Linked DNA regions of Homo sapiens: region 1 is linked to region 2. Evidence: promoter capture Hi-C in 16 types of primary human blood cells and fetal thymus (Javierre and others, 2016). All regions are on one chromosome and are shown on one strand. The core of a region is centred on a gene start or on the middle of the fragment in contact, and the rest is flanking DNA. Distances in the headings are between cores, read along the strand shown. Region 1 overlaps LOC105373883 (a long non-coding RNA gene). Region 2 holds the start of CNPPD1 (cyclin Pas1/PHO80 domain containing 1).

Region 1 (5,678 bases), core at 886-3,385, 190 kb before region 2:
AGCTGGGATTACAGGCATGTGCCACCATGCCCAGCTAATTTTGTATTTTTAGTAGAGATGGGATTTCACCACGTTGGTCAGGCTGGTCTTGAACTCCTGACCTCAGGTGATCCGCCCGCCTTAGCCTCACGAAGTGCTGGGATTACAGATGTGAACCACCACACCCGGCCTCTATAGAGAAAATTTTATGTAAGAAGGTCCAAATGATTTGGAAGATATCTCTTATTCATGATGTGAAACTCAATATTGTAAAATATGTTATCCTCCAAATTGATACATAGATTCAGTGCAATTCTAATAAAAATACCGACAGTTTCTCTCCTCCTCCTTGCTTTTCTTCTTTTTGTGTGGGAGTTGACAAGCTGATACTTTTTTATAGCCAAGATTTGAGCTGGGTGTAGTGGTGCGTGCCTGTAGTCCTGTCTACTTGGGAGGCTGAGATGAAATGATTGCTTGATCCCAGGAGTTAGAGATCGGTCTGACAAACATAGTGAGACCCCGTATCTTAAAAATTTTTTTTAAAAAAGAATCGAAGAAGACAACTGCCTTATTTGTTGTCAAAGCTTATTATAAAAACTACAGAAATTAAGATAGTATATTCTTGGTTCAAGAATAAAACTCACCAATAGAACAGAGACAAATGAATATTTGATACTTGGTTTATGACAAAGGTGGCAATTTGGTTTTTTTTTTGTTTGTTTGTTTTTGAGATGGAGTTTCACTCGTTGCCCAGGCTGGAGTGCAGTGGCGCAATCTTGGCTCACAGCAACCTCTGCCTCCTAGGTTCAAGCAATTCTCCTGCCTCAGCCTCCTGAGTAGCAGTGATTACAGGCACCTACCACCACGCCCAGCTAATTTTTGTATTTTTAGTAGAGATGGGGTTTCGCCATGTTGGCCAGGCTGGTAATGTACTATAATAAAGTGGACATCCCAAGAATGCAGGTTTACTTCAACATATTAAAATTAATTAATGTAATACATTATATTATAGAATAAAGAGCAAAACCCACATGATCTCAATTGATGCAGAAAAAGCATTTGGTACAATCCCAAACCCTTTCATAATAAAAATATTCAACATTCAGAAATAGAAAAGAGCTTGCTCAACCTGATAAAGGCATCTATGAAAAACCCACGGCTGGCTAGGCACAGTGGCTCCCGCCTGTAATCCCAGCACTTTGGGAGGCCGAGGCGGGCGGATCACCTGAGGTCAGGAATTGGAGACCAGACTGGCCAACATGGCGAAACCCCATCTCTACTAAAAATACAAAAATTAGCTGGGTATGGTGGCATGTGCCTGTAATTCCAGCTACTAGGGAGGCTGAGGCAGGAGAATCGCTTGAACCCGGAAGGTGGAGTTTGCAGTGGGCCGATATCGCGCCACTGCACTCCAGCTTGGGTGACAGAGCAAGACTCGGTCTCAAATAATAATAATAATAATAATTTCTTCATACCTTGCATACTTTGCATACAAAGTTGTTTCCCTCCATCCTATGATGTCTAATTGTTTTATTTATGTATACTTATTATAAGTTTTAACCCTTAGTGACCCTAATTTGCTGTGAAAACTAGGAAGCAGGCAATTGTGAACTGCCTGTCATATATCGGCATCTTGTAGTAGATTAGTAAATTTATGAATATACTATTTTATAATTTCAGGAACATATGCTTCCTAATATAGTACAGTCTTTCAGTGTGGCAAAGAACATGCTTATTAGTAGACCCAAATATATTTAGCTTCTCTATATCATATAAAAATAAGATGCCAGAAGTATATACGCTTAAATTTATGCTTAGTAGTTAATGTTTCAGTAGTTTATCTTACTTACAAATGGTTCAGACATTTAATGAATATCTACTGCTTAATTTAACCTAACTTTAAGTTTGCAAGTTACCAAATAAGATTTGGAAACTGATTCAGGCAGACATACTGTAACATCAAACAAAGCTAGCCATCATCTCAAGTTATTTTTCTTGTTGACAAATCAGGTAAGTGTAAAAAATGGCCAGGCATGGTGGCTTACGCCTATAATCCCAGCACTTTGGCATGCCGAAGTGGACAGATCCCTTGAGCCCAGGAGTTCGAGACCAGCTTAGGCAACATGGCCAAACCCCATCTATACAAAAATTGTCTGTCCATGGTGGCATTCTCCTGAAGTTTTAGCTACTTGGGAGGCTGAGGTGGTAAGAATTGCTCGAGCCTGGGAGGTTGAGGCTGCAATGAGCCATAATCATGCCATTGTACTCCAGCCTGGGCAACAAAGCTAAACCCTGTTTAAAAAAAAATAACAGAAGCAAAAAACCTAAAAATTTAAATATATGGTTCTTCTCTGTCTTTTTTTAAAAACTGCTATGCTTGATATGCATCAAGCAATTTATTTTTATTGTATATTTTATTCTTAGTTTAGATTTATAGTTTTATAACCTTAAACATCTAGTTGATATAACATTGTTTGACCAGTAAACCCAGGTAAAATAAAATTGTAGTTCTGCATTCTATTTAATGCTGACAACTCCAAAGACATTTCTGCTTTTATTTTATCAACAATTTTTTTTTTTTTTTTTTTTTTTTTTTTTTTTTTTTTTTACAGAGCCTGGCTCTGTCACCCAGGCTGGAGTGCAATGGAATGGAGCCATCTTGGCTTACTGCAACCTCCGCCTCCTGAGTTCAAGTGATTCTCCTGCCTCAGCCTCCTGAGTAGCTGGGATTACAGGTGTGTACCACCACGCCCAGCTAATTTTTGTATTTTTAGTAGAGGCGGAGTTTCACCATGTTGGTCAGGCTGGTCTTGAACTCCTGACCTTGTGATCAACCTGCCTCGGCCTCCCAAAGTGCTAGGATTACAGGCGTGAGCCACTGTACCTGGCTTTTTTTTTTTTTAATCTATATAAACAAGGTCTCACTCTGCTGCCCAGACTGGATTGCAGTGGTGTGAACACAGCTCACTGCAGCCTTGAACTTCTAAGCTCAAGGGATTCACCTGCCTCAGCCTCCCAACTAGCTGGGATTACAGGCGCCTGCCACCACGCCAGTCTAATTTTTTGTATTTTTAGTAGAGGCGGGGTTTCACCATGTTGGCCAGGCTTATCTTGAACTCCTGACCTCAAGTGATCCACCCACCTCGGCCTCCCAAAGTGCGGGGATTACAGGCGTGAGCCCCTAAGCCCGGCCTACTTTTTAAACTTTTTGTAAAGACCAAGTCTCAGTATGTTGTCCAAGCTGGTTTCAAACTCCTGGGCGCAAGTAATGCTCCTGTCTCAGCCTCCCAAAGCACTGGGATTAGGGGTGTGAGCCACTGCGCCCAGCCTGCCAACAATCTTAAAACTAATTTTATTTACCCAAAAGACTTAACAAGGCCCATGTGTTCAGATTCCTGTCTGTGTCCCCATCTTTGGAGGAAGGACACCTTTCACATGGGGAAAGGATCAGGGAGATCCCTTCAGGAGAGAAGGATCAGGGAAGTCAGAGAGATTGTCCTGCACATGCTGTTTCTCAGATCCTTCCAGCTTAAAATATTCAACATGCCAGTGTGCCATGTTTCTGGGTGGCATGTCCTGAACCCTCTTATTGGATAGTATAAATGGCTATTCACTCTGAAAATCTGTTGAGCTGTATCTTTACATTCTGTCTACTTCTGTTCATATGTATTACCTTTCATAATCAAAAGGTAAAAATACTTTTTTTAAAAAAAAGCATAAAAGCTTCTAAACACAAAAGTTGGTGTCAGAAATATTCTAAATGGAAAGAGGAAAAGAGTGGCTCCTAAGATGACTGGATTATTAGAAGTAAAGAAATGCCCTCCCTTCTTGCCCAATAAACTCCAGAAGCTCCCAGAGTGGCCCTAGGCGAGAAGAGATGAGAGGGAGGGTCAGCCGTGCTCTCCAGGGAAATCCCCTTGTTTTCCCCAGGCCAGCCCCAAAGGGGCACTAGTCTACACTGAACTCTCAACTTCCAGGCAATAGAGACCACCCTTTCTCTGCTGCTTTATTTGACAGCTTAGGAAAGACTGAAATGTTCAAACAAAAATGAACAACAACAGAAAGCCTTGACAAAGGAAAGCCAGATGCAGAGGACCATGGATCCACATATCCTAAATGCAAGGGAGAGCCTGCTCTCCAGGCTCCAGAGCCTTCCACTCATGGGCTACCCCAGGAATAATAGGGACTCCTCCCTGAGTCTCCCCACTCCTGACTCCAGGCTTTCCTCCCACAGCAGGTGACATTCCTAAGTTTGTATGCATGTGCCAGCACACATTTATATATACAAGTGCAATATGTACATAGTAATGCACACACATATTCTCAAACCTACACACATACACCTCACACACATACATAAACGTAACATATATACACCTACACACACATAAACAGACACATGCGGACTTACACATGGACATCTATACAGAAACACACACATGTAAGCATACATGCACACACACAACACAGGTGCACATGCACATACAATGTTTGCAAACATATACAGCCACAGGCATAGACACACATATACACCTGGATACATATACAAACCCATCACACATGCATACATATGCTCATTCACATACTACAAATACATACAAAAAGGCATACACATATATGCACACATGCACAACATACAAACACAGAGACATGCATGTAGGCATAATACATGCATGCATACTCGTGCGCAAAAAACACACATGTGCAATACACAGATACATATACATAAATGCATGCATACACATATGCAGACAATACATAGATACATGTCACACAAACATATTGCTATATATCCATATATACATATGCAAAAACATACACATATATACACAAACACACACATCTTTATGTACACACCCACAAACACACACCCCACATACCCACACGCACATACTGCATGTGATAGCCATCCTACAAGATGACCTCCAGTGATCCTTACCTCTTGGAATTCATGCCTTTGTGTAGTCCCTCCCACAGTGTATCAGGGTTGGTCTCTGTGGCCAGTATAATATGGCAGAAATGATGGCATGGGACTTCCAAAGCTAGGTTTTAAAAACACTGTGGCTTTTGCCTGGTTCTCTCTCTCTCTCAGGTCACTCACTCCAGAGGAAGCCAGCTGCTGTGTCATGAGGCACTCAAGCAGCCATATGGAGAGGCTGATGTGGTAGGGAACTGAGACCTCCTGCCAACAGCCAGCATCGTCTTGCCAGGAGGGTGAGTCATCTTGAAAGTGGATCCTCTAGCCCCACGCAAGCCTTCAGAAGACTACAGCCAACCCTGAGTAACATCTTCACTGCAACTTCAAGAGAGACCCTGAACCAAAAATACCCAGCTAAGCCTCTCTCAGATTCCCAGTCCACAGAAACTGTGAAATAGATGTTTATAGTTTAAGCGACTAAGCTTTGGGGTAATTTGTCATGTAGCAATAAGCCATAGATATTCTTTGCTAAAACTGGATTTTTAAAAAAAGTAATAGACAATGAATACAAGTACACTACATGTACACATATACACATTGACACACACATCCCATCTACATACACAAATACATCTCCCACACATACAAACCTACATACGCACACACAAACACACATGCATACAGTACACATTGATTCATACAAACACATGCACACACATATAAACACATGGACACAACACCCATGCACAAACATATAAACACATGTATACACATATAAACA
Region 2 (5,637 bases), core at 2,390-4,889:
GGAATGGGGTGGTCCAGTTTGGTTAAGAGGATGCTCAAGACCACCAATTCAGGAAGCTGGCAATACATAATGCCCACCACCTGTAATTCACACTGGTCTGCCTTGGCAGGAGAAAGTGTCAGGCTATCAAAAGCTTATTTCCTGAGGTGAGACTGCCTCCTGCACCAGGGATTAGCTGTGAATGTTGCCTCAAGAAGGCGCCCAGGCCTCTTCTTTCAGGGTCTCCAAGCGGGGAGTTTATATCACTCCACTCCCATCCCCCGCCACCTCTATTCCCCTTCAGTGTAGTGAACTGTTGTATGATGTAGGGGAGGTTACCTGAGCTGGATTCTGCCTCTTGTACTGCAGCAGCTCCTGCAGGTGAATCTGGAAGGTGAGCCAGCTCTCAGCCAGGTATCTGCACAACTCGGGCACACTCAGCAGGTGCGGCCGGGCGCCTGACCCCGCACCCTCACTGGGGAGACATGACATGACCCCTGGAGGCCTCAGATACCAGCTTCCTAGACACTTAAATCCCTCTGAGAATGCCAAAGATATCTTTAGTCTAAAAAAGCAAATGACCCCACCTCTCAAAAGGAGGCTGTCCTGGTCTTAGAAGCAAAGCCAGGAGGACCCAACCCTCTGCCCCAAAAGGAGCAGGCACGCAAACACCTACACAGGAGCCTAGGACCATGAAAAACCCATGGCTTGTTACCAGTTCATTCACAATGCTGGGGCACTGCCCTGCTCCATGGTGACACTGGCACCAGCAAGCAGGACAGGATGTGGGCATTTGTCTTCAAGAGGTGGCCTGTACTCACCTGTCAGAGTGTGGCTCCTCTGGGGATGATGCTAGAGAGAGAGGAGGGGGGCAAATTATTGAGTGGTAGGGGCCCTGGGAGACACTCCCCAAGGCAGAAATAGTTGTCCCTCCTCTGCAGCCCCAGAGCACCTTCTTCAGATGCCAATGGGGGAGCTGTTACATGTTTTTGTTTGCGTCTGTCTCCTTTAGACATTACCCTTCTCCAACATAAGAACTAGATTTTACTCATGCTTATCTCCCAAGCAACTCACATACAGCCTGTCACCTACTAAGTAAATTATATGGATAACAAGAAAAACAACACTGACGTTCTATTTATAAGGCTTATATGTGAAACACTATCATAAGTATAGCATGTGTATTAACTCATTAATCCTCTCCTCACCTCTCTATGAAGTAAGTTCTATCATCTGTGTTTTACAGATAAGGAAATTGAGACAAACAGAAATTGAGCTACTTTTACAAGGTCACAGCAATGGTAAATGGCAGAACAGAGAATGGAACCCAGGTAATATGGCTGCAGACTTCACCATCTTAACCACTGCACCTACAGTAGTATTAGTTTGGGAAAGGGGCAATTCTCATTTTAGGGAATTCCGTACAAAAAGGAAGTGGGCCATGCCTGGGAGGCAGGTGGCCTGCTGTACGTTCCCCTCGCCACTTAACCCCACCCAGCGGAATCAGGCACCAAGCAAGTACCCAATGGGTGCTTACTGAATGAAGAAACACTCACCTGAAACGTCAGGGAGAAAGCGAGGCTGCCAGAGATCCAGCAGAAAATAGGCCAAAAGTGAGACGCTGAGTAGGAAGAAGGGCCGGAGGGACGAGGAAGACAGCAACCTTAGGGAGAGACAGGCACCTCAGCAGTGAGTGGGTGAGACAGGCTCATGCATCCATCTCAGAAGGTGGAAAGGCGCCTACTGATGGGGTAATGGCACCTCCAGGCCTAACTCGCGACTCACGACTCAGAGATAGAAAAAAATGGGCAATTCAAGCGGATGTCAGCCTGCAAAAACTGGGGATGGGTCATGCCCCCAGGCCAAGTGATAACCCAGAAAGGGGAATGGTGCTCTCGACCCCTCCCTCCCCCGCTCATCCCGGCCCCGCCCCCTCCTCCGCGGCCGTTACCAGAAGAGGCCGTTGAGCGCGGCCGCCGTGACCAGGCTGTGCAGCGGCTTCTCCCACACCAGCAACCGCTGCGCCGCCGCCAGCACCGCCTCCCAGCCGCGGAGCCGCAGCCACAGCGTCGTGGCCAGGCGTCCCACCGCCTCGGCCGTGGCCGCCTCCTCCTCTGCCTCACTGGTGGCCTCACTCATGCCTAGGCTCAGACCCAGACCCAGGCCCAGGCTCAGGCCCATCCCCGGCCCCCCACCCGCGCCAGTGTTACCCCCGCCACCGCCGCTCGCCATAGCCCCGCCGCAGCCGCCGCCCGAGCCCGCGAGGAGCCAGGGCTGCGCGGCCGCCGCCGGGGGCGCGTCAGGCGGAAGGGGGCGCCGCGGAGGACAGCAGAGGTTGCGGACGAGCGTCACGTGACTGCGGAGCGCTGAGCCCGTCACGTGACGCGGCCTAACCCCCCCCCCCCCGGATAGGGCGGGCCGCGCATGCGCCCCGGCGGCTGCCGCTGACACTGCGCCTACACAGGTTCGTTTTCTGGTTGACGAAGTACCCCGGGTTCCGAGTCCGGGTCTAGGTCCAGGCAGTCGAGCCCGTTTTCTTATCCCACAGTAGGCAGGGCGGCTAGGGAGTGTGGTGCTGCCCCGGTATCCCCGTGTGGGGCAGGAAGTGGGCTTCCAGATTCCCAGTATCCCCGGTAGGGTCTGCTTCTGCTCGCTCGGGAAGGGCGGTGGCCGTCCCATTACTCAACCAACCCTCAACGCACTGGTCCTCCCAGTTCCCTCCCCTCAGTGGGTAAACAAACACACACCAGCGCTTGACTCGACAGACTCGAAAACAACATCTACTCAGAAAAGTTGTTTCTTTCCTATCTCCTTAAACTTTCCCACTTCCACATATCGGAGCTTCTTCCCACCTCGGCCTACTCAAGCATGAGATCGGAGGCGGGAGGTGGGTTTCAACACAAAACCTTGGGTAGATGCAGTTTACTTTTGGGTGGACGTGTTGACACGTTTTGAGGCCTTACATTCGCTTAAGATCACAGAATTTCCTCAGTAGCCTTAGGTTTAAAAGTTCAAATTACAGTAAAAAAAAAAAACACCCTGAGTTTCTCTTCCTTTTCATAGTTCACCCACTGCTAAATTTCCTGTGTGTCCTTTCAGACGCTTTTCATATGCATTGCTGAGTATGTATAATATCTCTCCTAAAAAGCAACTGGGAACAACTTCCTGTTGTGCGTTTCGTCTTATTCACATTAACTTCTCCATTGCTACGCCTGGCTTGTTCATCCTCAGTGCGGCGTGGTCCCCCCTACGAATTGTCCCCATTTCTCAGAGGCGCCTGGGGCTTGGCCACGTTCCGTGAGACCAGGAGTTCGAGTCCGGTTCCTGCCCGCGGGTCGGGGCGGGAGGCTGGGCCAGATGGGCGGCAGGAAGTGCCAGGCGCTGACTTGCAGGCGGCACCCCCGCGGCTTGTAAACGCCGGGCGGACGCGGCACAGGCGGAGTACGCGCCTCGCAGCCGCATCTCCTTTCTGCTCCGCGAGGTGAGCGTCGCACGGACGCTTGACACCTCCCTTCCCGGGCCTAGGGCCCCCGCGCGCCGCGCCAAGCCCGGGGCGGAACAGGAAGAGGCGCCCAGTTCAGCCCGGGCCCCGCCTTCCGCCGCCGGGGGGAGGGAGCTGCGAGGGCGAGGGCGAGGACGGCGGCCCGCCCCGGGGAGGCAGGCTGGCAGGTGGACAGGCGGGCAAGGACAGCTCCGCGAGCCCCCTACAACTCGTTTCCTTCCGTTCACCTTCGCAGGGCGGCGACTGGCGGCGCGATGGACCTGACCGGGCTCCTGCTGGACGAAGAAGGCACCTTCTCCCTCGCCGGCTTCCAGGACTTCACGGTGAGTGGGGGTCCCGCCCCCTCCCCGGCCTCCCGGCGCGCCCCTCCCGGCCTGAGCGGCGCTGCGAGCTCGCCTGACTGCTGTGCCGGGACTGGGCGGCAGCTGCTCGAGCAGTGCTTCCTTGAGGCCGCGGCTGCTTGGGCCGGGAGGGAGAGCCGCGGAGTATAGGAATGGGCGTAGGGGTGGCCACACGAGGGCCCTTCTCGGAGAACTTCTCCCGGGGAACCCTCGATGGGGGTGGGGGCATTCCTCCCTCTATGGACCAGGCTGCCATTGGCAAGCGATTTACAGAACGCGGGTCTGGGTAAGGCACGGGCCCCCTAGCAGCGAGGCCGGCCTGTCCCCTGCCCCGCCTTCCAGCCCAGAGCCAGGATCTGCATCATACCTTTCCGTGCCCTTCACCCTCCGCTGCCCCTGCCCTGTTTCAGTTCCTCCCAGGACACCAGAAGCTGAGTGCCCGGATCCGAAGGAGGCTCTACTATGGCTGGGACTGGGAAGCCGACTGTAGCCTGGAGGAGCTCTCCAGCCCGGTGGCAGGTTAGGCAGTGTTGTGTGACTGGACAAGTGAGAAGCATGAAAATGGGATTGTCATCAGGCAGAAAATGGCTCGAGGTTTGCCCCGTGGCTACACTGTCTCTTCATTGCTAGCTCGTTGGTACTTGGTTCAAGAGGGCAGTTTGCATTTCCCATTCTTTTAGCCCAAATGAATAAAAAACATTGCTGCCACATATATCTATACAAATCACTCTTGATTTATATATTGAAAAGCTAATTTTCGAAGGATATCCATCATATGTTCCCCAAGTAAACAAGGCATGTTTATGCCACAGATGAACAGCAGTGACAGATAAATCTGGATAGTTTGATGTGACAGGGCAATAAGCTTTCCTGTTAGAATGAGCTGAAATTCGAACTTGGAATGGGCTTTTTGTCTCAGTGTGTGAGAATTTGATCTCTATTTTGTTACTATGGTCCTGTCCCCAAGGCCTCAGAAAATACAGATCTGGGTCTTCTGCTAGCAGTGGGGACTGGTGTGTTGGGTGTGGGTGCTTGTTTGCTCACTCGGCCTTCCTTCTGTCCCTTGCAGACATTGCTGTCGAACTGCTCCAGAAGGCAGCCCCCAGCCCTATTCGCCGACTCCAGAAGAAATATGTAGCTCATGTGTCCCGGTGAGCCTGGAAATGAGGATAGGATGAGAGTGTTTGGGCCCTAGAGAAAGGGGAATCGTCTTTTCTTTCTTTTCTTTCTTTCTTTTTTTTTTTTTTGAGACAGTCTCACTTTGTCACCCAGGCTGGAGTGCAGTGGCACAATCTCGGCTCACCGCAACCTCCGCCTCCTGGGTTCCAGTGATTCTTGTGCCTCAGCCTCCCCAGTAGCTGGGACTACAGGCACACACCACCGCCCCTGGCTAATTTTTGTATTTTTAGTAAAGACGGGGTTTCACCATGTTGGCCAGGCTGGTGTCAAACTCCTGGTGTCAGTCCACCCACCTTGGTCTTCCAAAGTGCTGGGATTACAGACATGAGCCACCGTGCCCAGCCAGGAATAGTTTTTTTCCAAAGATAAGAGGTAAAGACAGGAACGAGCATCATAAGACTTGCAAGAGCTGAAGGACCCTTGGGTTTAATTAGTGATCCTTTCTACCACCCAGGGAGGCATGCATCTCCCCATGTGCTATGATGCTGGCTCTGGTGTACATTGAACGGCTCCGGCACCGAAACCCAGACTACTTGCAGCATGTGTCATCCTCTGACTTGTTCCTGATCTCCATGGTAAGACACCCCCTCCCCATCTCCCTAAAGAGCCAAGAGCCTGCTATGAGCTCTGCTCCAC

What was found. Contacts are between HindIII fragments. The CHiCAGO score rates a contact against its expected background, and 5 or more counts as called.
Region 1: a contact is called between a fragment that was not itself captured here and the fragment with the promoter of CNPPD1 in region 2, in 2 of 17 cell types (erythroblasts and M2 macrophages). The highest score is 5.3, in erythroblasts.

The regions. Positions count from the first base shown.
Region 1 is chr2:219,362,202-219,367,879 of GRCh38, reverse strand. LOC105373883 (a long non-coding RNA gene) reads left to right here. Exons shown (of 2, transcript XR_923917.3): 2 at 5,072-5,378. Among named protein-coding and RNA genes, the nearest start is that of DNPEP, 23 kb to the left of the region's middle. RefSeq lists an enhancer at 5,268-5,317. The HindIII fragment of the contact is 3,139 bases long and covers 566-3,704 here.
Region 2 is chr2:219,174,927-219,180,563 of GRCh38, reverse strand. CNPPD1 (cyclin Pas1/PHO80 domain containing 1) reads left to right here and starts at 3,639. Exons shown (of 8, transcript NM_015680.6): 1 at 3,639-3,804; 2 at 4,233-4,341; 3 at 4,892-4,973; 4 at 5,456-5,576. The coding sequence starts at 3,736. RETREG2 (reticulophagy regulator family member 2) reads right to left here and starts at 2,289. Exons shown (of 9, transcript NM_024293.6): 1 at 1,931-2,289; 2 at 1,536-1,642; 3 at 801-831; 4 at 319-454. The coding sequence starts at 2,211. RefSeq lists silencers at 1,855-1,924, 3,375-3,424, 3,495-3,704, 3,825-3,884, 3,723-4,017 and 2 more and an enhancer at 2,094-2,594. The HindIII fragment of the contact is 4,554 bases long and covers 136-4,689 here.